Regions from separate parts of the Homo sapiens genome. Here all the other regions are linked to region 1. Evidence: promoter capture Hi-C in 16 types of primary human blood cells and fetal thymus (Javierre and others, 2016). All regions are on one chromosome and are shown on one strand. The core of a region is centred on a gene start or on the middle of the fragment in contact, and the rest is flanking DNA. Distances in the headings are between cores, read along the strand shown. Region 1 holds the start of DNAH5 (dynein axonemal heavy chain 5). Region 2 overlaps CTNND2 (catenin delta 2). Region 3 overlaps CTNND2 (catenin delta 2).

Evidence for each region. Contacts are between HindIII fragments. The CHiCAGO score rates a contact against its expected background, and 5 or more counts as called.
Region 2: a fragment that was not itself captured here is called in contact with the fragment with the promoter of DNAH5 in region 1 in 1 of 17 cell types (endothelial precursors); the score reaches 5.2 in endothelial precursors.
Region 3: a fragment that was not itself captured here is called in contact with the fragment with the promoter of DNAH5 in region 1 in 1 of 17 cell types (endothelial precursors); the score reaches 5.6 in endothelial precursors.

What each region holds. Positions count from the first base shown.
Region 1 is chr5:13,943,393-13,946,445 of GRCh38, reverse strand. It overlaps DNAH5 (dynein axonemal heavy chain 5), which reads left to right and starts at 1,758. Exons shown (of 79, transcript NM_001369.3): 1 at 1,758-2,064. The coding sequence starts at 2,008. The HindIII fragment of the contact is 10,431 bases long and covers 1-3,053 here.
Region 2 is chr5:11,266,625-11,270,016 of GRCh38, reverse strand. All of the region lies in intron 9 of CTNND2 (catenin delta 2), which reads left to right. Among named protein-coding and RNA genes, the nearest start is that of CTD-2154B17.1, 480 kb to the right of the region's middle. The HindIII fragment of the contact is 5,464 bases long and covers 1-3,392 here.
Region 3 is chr5:10,990,823-10,993,969 of GRCh38, reverse strand. CTNND2 (catenin delta 2) reads left to right here. Exons shown (of 22, transcript NM_001332.4): 19 at 1,293-1,419. Among named protein-coding and RNA genes, the nearest start is that of CTD-2154B17.1, 210 kb to the right of the region's middle. The HindIII fragment of the contact is 1,566 bases long and covers 1,024-2,589 here.

The DNA.
Region 1 (3,053 bases), core at 509-3,008:
GTTCAACAACTTCCAGTGAGCCTGAGCGCTCAAGAAGATACCTTAAGACGCCATCTACCTTGCCCGAGGGGTTGAAATTCAGCCACACAGACTGGAAGGCTTCCCGGTTTGCTGTGAAGCCTCAAGGGAGTCATGGTTATGCCTGCCAAACACAAAATGCATGCCATCAGCCATCTGTGGAAATCTTCCCAGGAAGTAACTCTCCCCAAGCGATGCGTTGTAAATGGGCTGCTGCTGCAATGAGGATGGTGCCTAAAATACCATTAGGGAAGCACCGATTCAAATGTAACTAATGAAAGATAATCGGCGATGTAATGAATTGTAACATGTTTGTCCTGAGGTCATGTGTTGACAGAGGATTCTTGGGATGGATAGGAGATGCCATGTGAGGAGGATCCGATCCTACTGCTATTTTCTGGTGTCTTCAGCACCACACAGAGAAGGGACTCAGAGTCTAGATACTGTCTTCAACACTTTTTATTAGAAACGGACAACAGCCGCTTACCAACAACCAGAGGTTGACTTCAACAAATATCCTGCAGGGCCTGGCCTGGTGGCTCATGCGTATAATCCCAGCACTTTGGGAGGCCGAGGTGGGCAATTGCTTGAGGCCAGGAGTTTGAGACCAGCCTGGGCAATGTGGCCAAACCTGTTTCTACAAAAAATACAAAAATTAGCCGCGTGTTGTGACACTTGCCTGTAGTCCCAGTTACTAGGAAGGCTGAGGTGGGAGGATCACCTGAGCCTGGGAGGTTGAGGCTGTGGTGAGTGGTGGTCACGCAACTGCACTCCAGCCTGTGTGACAGAGTGAGACCTGCAGGTCTCAAAAAAGAAAAAAAAAATCCTGCAAACAAACTTAAACTTCCTGTGTTCTAGTTATTTACTTACCAAATAATATTGAGGTCTAAATGTTGTCTGTTAACCTGACATATGGAGGCCGTCCGTGCCCTAGCATTGGATATGGACCAAGTGAATCTCCATGTTCTGAAACCATGTCAGCACCCTGCCTTCCAAGTCAGGCTCCACAGAGGTTGACTAGCAGGATGTTACCAGGATGAGTTCCCAATTTCCTGATTATCCTTGGATGACCTTTTAGGATTTGAGTTGCTGGACTGTGAATTCCAAGGACTAAATTCTAGATTCAACAAGACCAACCTTAAGTGTCCTGCCTTTTATTCAACTCGATGGGAGAAACCATACATGAGAGATCTCTCAAAGCATTTGGCAGTGTTTTCCCATTACATCTTCACAGTTAAGATGATCAAGATGTTTAGCCACATAGGATAAATTACCTTGGCTGAAGTGTATGTGCAACTGTGTGAGCACAAGTAATTTATGGACATGGTTTGCTATTTGCATATGAAACAGACTTCTTGTTCTTTGTGGTGGAGAAAATGGCTCCTATGGGTCACAATTAGCCTATCTGGCAATTAGTCACAATTAGTCACAATGCTGGCAGTGCATCGTGCTTGCAAAGTTGTTTACACAAAGTAAGACTGAGTTTCTCGACATGGACAATATATTCAGAGCTGTGGCTTCTTGGATTTCTAATCTGATATGGTTTAAAGTTTCTCATTGTTCAAAGAAACTATTTAGATATCACTGTTGACTCAATGCTTATTATTGGGCAGTGAATAGAATTAATTGAACAACAGAAGGAGTTGTGTTGCTACCGAGCAGTTAAAATGCTTTGATTGCTTGATAAACATGATTAAGAGGCATGGTTCAACTGTATAGTGTATAAACAATATTACCCTAACAACACCAGGCTTCGAGAGAGAGGAGAGGCCCAGGGCAGACACTCTAGGAGAAAAACTTGAGTGGTATAAGTGGAGTTTTAATTTTTATTCTGTGAATGTAGTGAATAATACATGCAAATTAGAAACGTGAAAGTAAAATGGAAGTAAAACTTTCCATTTGGAAGCCTGTTGGATGTTGAGCAGGTCTGCCAGGAGTTAGAAGACCATTCCGGAAGAGCTGACTCCAGCCTGTCCATGCACGGCTACAATGTTTAGGATTGGGAGGAGACAGCTCTGGAAGCATAGCGTCACTCGAGTTTTAACGGTAAGGTGCTGTTGTCTGTACCTTTGCATGTGTGTTTTGGATTATCATCTGTCACACCTGGGTGGAAAAAACAAACTTGAAAAAGGTTCAAAGTCACACACTGATGAATTTGCGAGAAACACATTTTTTAACTAATGTTCACCTGGTGCATAGGCTACATATTCATTTTTTAAATAAAAAAAATTTTGCATCTGTAGGCTTTTCTGCACGTTGCCGCTTAAACTACGCACCTAGAAATTCATGCTGCATCTTTTGGGAAGATGCTTTCCTGGGGTCAAAAACACATTCATAGTGGTTTGGGCACTTTGTATTCTTTCAAACCTGTAAACTTTAGTTGGTGATTAGAAATAGTTAAGGCAGATTCTAGGCTGCAAGGTTTAGGCTTTGAAATCACTCCCCTGTTCTATATGCCTGCAAATGAGGTCACAGACAGTGAGATGCAAGGCTGTGCCTTTGGAAATCACATTGAAGAATGAACTTCCCTAGCACAGGGCTCAGCTCAGCAGCTTTTTATTATGCAAATGCATAGAGAGGGATTTGGAAACCTCTTCCACTGCCAATTAACGTCAGAAGAAATTGGAGGTTTCTCTAGGACTCAGTTCTCAACCATTAACCCATGCTTCCTACTGGGCTTGATCACTGTGTCTTTTTGTGTATCCCCAGAAGCTCACATGATCCCCCCTAGCCTGTTGTTTTTACCACAAAAGAGCAGGCATCTACCTCTGAATTTTTTAAGTATGCCACCATCTGCCACCCCTCACTTGCCCAAGCCACAAGATTCTGATGCATCCTTCCCAAGGTGAACGTCTTGCAGCCAAGCCCCTGAACTTGCTTGCTAGAGTTAGAAGACCATTCTGGAAGAGCTGACTCCAGCCAGTCCATGCACTGCTTATTCTTCAAGACCAAGTGCTAGTGTTACCTCCTCTGAGAAGCGTCCCCTGACACTTTGAGGAGGAGGTGTGAGTTTCCTTCCTGTACCCTGTCAGCAC
Region 2 (3,392 bases), core at 717-3,216, 2.7 Mb after region 1:
CAATGTTTGTGAATGTTGTTTTATACATGTGTAAATTTTTGAAAAATAATTGTCATGTGATTAATATTTCCAGGGTTGACATAATCCTGCAATTCAAGGCTCCGTGTTTTTTTCGTTTTCAATCACTAGCATAATTTTTCTAGAGAAGCATCTAACTTTCTGACCAGGTCTGCCTTTTGGTTTATGTTATATTGAAGTAAATACAGATGATGTCCTGCATATTCTGAGGGGGGAGGGATTTTACTCCTGTAAAAATCATTCTGCAGGGGTCCAAAGTACAAGTCTGGAGAGGAACTCTGGCAGCAGTTTCAAAGAGAGGCACCTTTTTTGTGAATATTGACATTTATGCCAACCATCTATTGTGAACTTCCTATTCATGTGGTCTTTGTGGAGCCAGAAGCACTGATTTCTTTATATTAAACATAGCAATCTATGTCAGTTCATTCAACCCCATTACAGTACAATGAGTTAAATACGTGCTGTGGTCCAGTTGAATATTAGGTATGAATACAATGCAAATGTAGCCTGAAATCTAGATCCTTCTGAAGTGAAGAGACAGTGTGCTGTTTTTAAAGACTGTATCTATTTTGGTAAGATCAATAAATCAGAGGAAACTATTTTCTAGCATTTCTATTATAATAAACGAGAATAGATTTCAAAGAGAAGTTTTGCAGATCAAGGGCCCCAAAGTGTTATAAAGCTGTTTTCTTACATTTTTGAAGGCTAAGGAGCAAATAAAGATGAGTGATTCAGTATCACTAGCTTGGGGTAAGCGCTGTTCAAAGCGCACTGCCTCGCTTTCCCCCATTCATTCCTCTTCACTTCTATAAGCTGGCTGCTGTTATTTTTCCATTTTACAGCTGAGCAAACTAAATCCCGGGGAGCTAATGTAGCTTGCCCACAGTCTCACAGTCAGTAAGCAGAGAAGCTGGACTCAAGCCAAGGCAGGTAGCCTCCAGAGGCCATGCTCTTAGCTGTGTTGTTGTATTTCTAAAGGAAAAGTTTCGGTAAAAGGAACAGAGTGAGCATTTATGCATGGTTGAAATGAGGACAGTTCAGTTTTGTTAACTAACATTCCCTATCTCTTCAGACCGCTATGAGAATCCTACTGAAAACCTTTGCAACAGTGGCAGAGTTTAAAAGGGTCAGTGTGCACATTGCTCCCTGCAATGAACATCTTGTTTTAAAAGAAAAAAAATTACCCGTAATTTTGAAGACATAAGTACAAATTTAAGTAACTGTCTGCAGGCACATGAGCTCTAAATGGTTAGTGTTGTGGTAAAAAAATGCAGATTGTGATGGCATAAATGAGTCTTCATTACATCATTTTTTAATCCATTACACCATTATAGTGTGATAGTACTTTATATATATATTTGCTATGTTATTTTTATGTTATTTTTTCTTTTGTGTGTATCAGAGTCTTACTCCATCACCCAGGCTACCCAGGCTGGAGTGCAGTGGCATGATCTTGGCTCACTGCAACCTCCACCTCTCAGGTCAAGTTCAAGCAATTCTCGTGCCTCAGCCCCCAACACTGAGTAGCTGAGACTGCAGGTGCATGCCACCACGCCCAGCTAATTTTTTGTACTTTTTAGTAGAGATGAGGTTTCACCATGTTGTCTAGGCTGATCTTGAACTCTTGGCCTCAAGTGATCTGCCCACCTCAGCCTCCCAAAGTGCTGGGATTGCAGGCATGAGCTACCGTGCCTGGGCTGTTGCATTATTTTTAAATCGAATCTTTGGTGACTGAGAAGATACCTTACTGAAATTACTATTTAAACTCACTCAAAATAGGTTTTTAAAAATGTTTACATTTTTAAATATCCATGTGGAAAAGGAAATGTTTGACACATGTTCCGTGCCTCATGGCACCTACCTGGATTTTCCAGAAATGATGCTGGTGTCTAGCATCTCTAAAAACCCCTACTTCTTTCAAGGTCTCTTCAACCATTGGTAGAATCACACCTTCTACCATTGCCACTTTTGGATTTGAAACAGTTTTTTGGGACTTCGCAACAATCATTGGTTTGTTCCATCTGCCTCCTTTCTAGTTTTCTCATTAAAGTTTTTCTGGATGACAGCGATGATTTCCTACTCTTTTTCAAAGCCCATCTTCTTGTGCATCATACTATGACTTCACGTTCAACATCAGGAAATTCAGAGGAGGCAAAATGCCTCTCATTCTTCTCTCTAAGGGATCTAGTAAGAACATTAATGCCACTGGCAAAATCTTTTTTGCGAACTTTATTTGAATAGCCAGATGTTTGTGCAAAATATAATGAGCTACTAGAACTGAAGATTTTCCTTTATATCAGACAATTCTGGTTATTATCAGGACAGGTTTCTAACATTTGCAAAGTGTGTGCAGTCCTTTTAAATCACACGGTGGGCATTTGCCATTTCAGGGCTGGGCAAATAGATTGGTTCCCTCGTTGTTAACAGGCCCCCACACAAGGGAGTTGCAGAAAAGACAACCAGTTGCTTAGGTCTTTCAAGTTAATAAAAATATCTTAAAGGGCTCATTTATCTGTGTCCCAGTTAATGACTGGTGACATCTAGTGGTGGCTGGATTGCAGGCACTCAAATGGCTTTCCCCTGGAGAGGCAGATCCAAAATAAACTGTAGAAATGTTTTTCAAGCCTCTCAGATGAGACATTTACAGACTGATGAGGTCAAACCCCATCACCACGTAGCCCAATTGCCAAATCACCCATCACCAGCCATCAGCCATCACTGAGGATTAGCCGTTAGCTCCACGTGGGGAGAATCCATCAGGTCCCCTCCTGCAGAAGCATGCCCTTCCCAACAGTACTGTCTCATGGAAAGTCAGCTTCAGGTCGGGCACGGTGGCTCACGCCTGTAATTCCAGCACTTTGGGAGGCCGAGGTGGGTGGATTACCTGAGGTCAGAAGTTCGAGGCCAGACTGGCCAACATGGCGAAAACCCATCTCTACTAAAAATACAAAAATTAGCCGGGCGTGGTGGCGGGCGCCTGTAGTCCCAGCTACTCGGGAGGCTGAGGCAGGAGAATTGCTTGAACCCTGGAGATGGAGGTTGCAGTGAGCTGAGATCGCGCCATTGCACTCCAGCCTGGGCAACAGAGTTGGACTCCGTCTCAAAAAAGAAAGTCAGCTTTAGGTCGTCTCTTTGCATTTGTGGCAGTTCGAGAGTAGGAAGCATTTGTATCTCCCTGGAAGAGTTTCCACTTCTGAAGCCAACCCATAATGGCAGCTTCTTTATTAAAATATGTGCAGTGGAAATTATGCTAATTAAGCTGGAGTGTAATTATAGACTAGAAAGATTCTCTCTTGCAGTCTGAATTGAATTGTTGTAGATAAATGTGCATTAACTTAATAGTGTACAGCTAATTATGAAAGGTAAAGGGGAGG
Region 3 (3,147 bases), core at 557-3,056, 3.0 Mb after region 1:
ACATTGGCACTTGTTTTCAATTCTTTAGCTTTTTTTTCTGATAATATTTAGACTTTTAAGGGGCTCAAAACTCTATCAAAAATCATTGAAAACATAAATAGATGAATTAATAAAGAACAAAATGCATACTCATTTCCATGTTCCTAATTCTTATTAGATACACCAAGACTAATCTTTGTGTATCTAATTCTCGTTATTCCTGTTCTACTTGACTGATAGGATAAAGCCAGAATGAGAGGTGCATGATTTTAAAAGATATTACCCAGCTTACTTACTAGGTGCTAACTGTGTGGCAAGATTCTCTGAACAATCCCAAGAGAACAAAGCATTGAGCCCCTTAAAAGTCTAAATGTTGTCAGGGGAAAAAAATAAAAAATCTAAAAGAATTGAAAGCAATGGCCTCTGTAAAGGAGGATTTGGGGGTGGAGCAGGTGACTGCTTTTCTTTGCTATAATGTTAGTACTATTTAACATGTTACTTTGATAAAAATAAAATCTATTTAAAAAAGAAAAAAAGACTGGAAGGAAATACCATGACAGGTTAACAGGAGTTCTCTCAGGTGGAGAGGGTGGAATTACCACCTATTTTTATTTTCTTCTTTATGCTTTGTAAATTCACAAAATAATCTGTGATATATTTATGCGGTTTTTATAAGGAAAAATAGTATAGATGCTTTCTGTATATTAACTAGATGTCAGAAGCCTAACGGAGGCTTGGTAGGATGCATTTTGAATATGCTCTATATTGAAAAATATCATTCCTGGAGCAGACCAGCTTGGAGACAGGCGAGGGTGGGCATTTGGGGCTGGAAAGGACACAGGCAGGTAAACGGGAAGGGAGGACGCTGCCCTGGATTCTGGTTGCCAACAGATAGGTCCTGGGAGCAAAGGGGTAAACCCTTGTGGAAAATCTTGAGGCAGCGGAAGAGGGAGCCAGGCAGAGCTGGAACCAGGTCGGCAAAAAATAGACAGTTTCCGGGTCCCCTAACATTCTGAGCATCGTATTTTCATCGAAGTCGAAGCTTCTGACCAGAGCGGGTTTGTAAAGGGACCATTTATTCAACATTCATGAAGGAAAGCAGGCCCTACCCGCCAGGCTCTCTGGAGGGAAGGAGGTGTGTCTTCATTCACATTTGGCTCTGTTCACCTCCATGAGAGCGCAGAACTTCAAGAACCTCTTCTGACACACCATAGAAATATTATGCAAATCCAGATACTTGGAACTTAAAAATGTCCGGAGGTGAAAAATCACTCTGTCTTGCCCATCTAACAGGAGCGTGCTGTGTTTTGCAGGATGGATGGTCACAATACCACTTTGTAGCCTCGTCTTCAACCATCGAGAGGGACCGGCAAAGGCCCTACTCCTCCTCCCGCACGCCCTCCATCTCCCCTGTGCGCGTGTCTCCCAACAACCGCTCAGGTAAGAGGCTGCCGTGGCTAGCCAGCCAGGCTTTATTTCTCGTTGAGCAAAGACGGTCCTTCCCAGTCCGTGAGCCAACCCGTACTCAGAGGAGAGCCTTCCATTCAGACCTTCGCTAGAAGTAGGAAATGAATCTGTTCTTTGTACTGTGGTGGCCACTCTGTGTTTTGTATACACAGACTCAGAGCAAATCTCCTTCTCTAACAGGTTCTTATGCATGACATGCACGTAATGAACCTGAATTCAGGAGGAACGAGTATAAAGAAAACTGTCATGTGTCTGCAAATCCGGGGTTTCCGTGGACAATTTTTCCAACTTAAAATAGTTTGAGTTGGCCTGGCGAGGTGGCTCATGCCTGTAATCCCAGCATGTTAAGAGGCTGAGGCAGGCGGATTGCCTGAGCTCGGGAGTTCGAAACCATCCTGGGCAACATGGTGAAACCCCGTCTCTAGTAAAAATACAAAAATTAGCCGGGCTTGTTGGCACACGCCTGTAATCCCAGCTACTCGGGAGGCTGAGGCAGGAGAATCACTTGAACCCGGGAGGCCGAGATTTCAGTGAGCAGAGATCGCGCCACTGCACCCCAGCCTGGGTGACAGAGTGAGACTCCGTCTCAATAAATAAATAAATAAATAAAATAAAAATAGTTTGAGTTGCATTTTGTCATAATTGGGATAAAAAGTTGAGGAGACCAAATGTGCTTTCTTCCTTCAGTGTGATATACATTTGACACATAGCACTGATGCTTTCATAACTGTTCCACATCTAATTGGCTTTTCATTATTAATGATAAACCGGCAGATGCCACTGATAAATTATTATCGTAGCCAACTATAACTTCCATGTCATTCCATTTAATTTTTTTCTAATTTTGTCACATTCCTATTGCTTAAATTTTGAACTTCTTGTATTCGTAAAAATACTTGATTTTTATACCCTTTTTAATTCACATTAAGAAATGCCAAAAATCAGAGGAAAGATGAAAGGCAAATGTGAACACACCATTTAGTAATATAAATGGCATAAATTTGCTGTTTTCCTCACAGTTTAGTTTTTAAAACTTTTATTTTGATTTCTGCATTTTGATTTTGTTCTGAGAGTGAAAGATGGATAACAAGTTATATGCACCCACACAGATGACAGCTATGTAGGCTCTTATTTATGAAAGCTTTCTTCCTACTCTTCTCTGCCCTCTCCCTGCTGAGGAAATCCTATTCTCTGAAATGACACCTGGGAGGACCTGGTAGAGAGCATTGCCCAGCAAAGTGGTCTCCCTACCCGCGAGAATGATGGTTGCAGAACTCCACGCCAGACTTTACTGTCAACATGATGAGAAATGAATGGCCAATATCTGACTGAAATAAATGGCCCGCTCCCAGCTCTGTGAAAGCTGATCCTTCTAGTGTACTGTCATTGCTTATCACATTTAGTCCAACCCTGGGTGACGATCAGGAACCCCCTGTACCTGTGGAAACGTCCACCCATCTCAGAAGCATGGAGGTGGCCTCTTAGGCCTCTTATTTCTGTAATTCCAGCAGGCTTAAAAAGATAAAGCGCATGGAGTGTGGAAAGCATATGGATGGTGTCTTTTGGAAAGCAGTGATTATTAAGAATTACAGTGAGCCAATCAGTGTTATGAGAATGAAACGACATGATGGATCGGCAAGGGCTGGAAGAGAGAAGCAGCCTTTTCTCGCGAGCAGGCAGGGCTGTGTTCAACCAGCCATG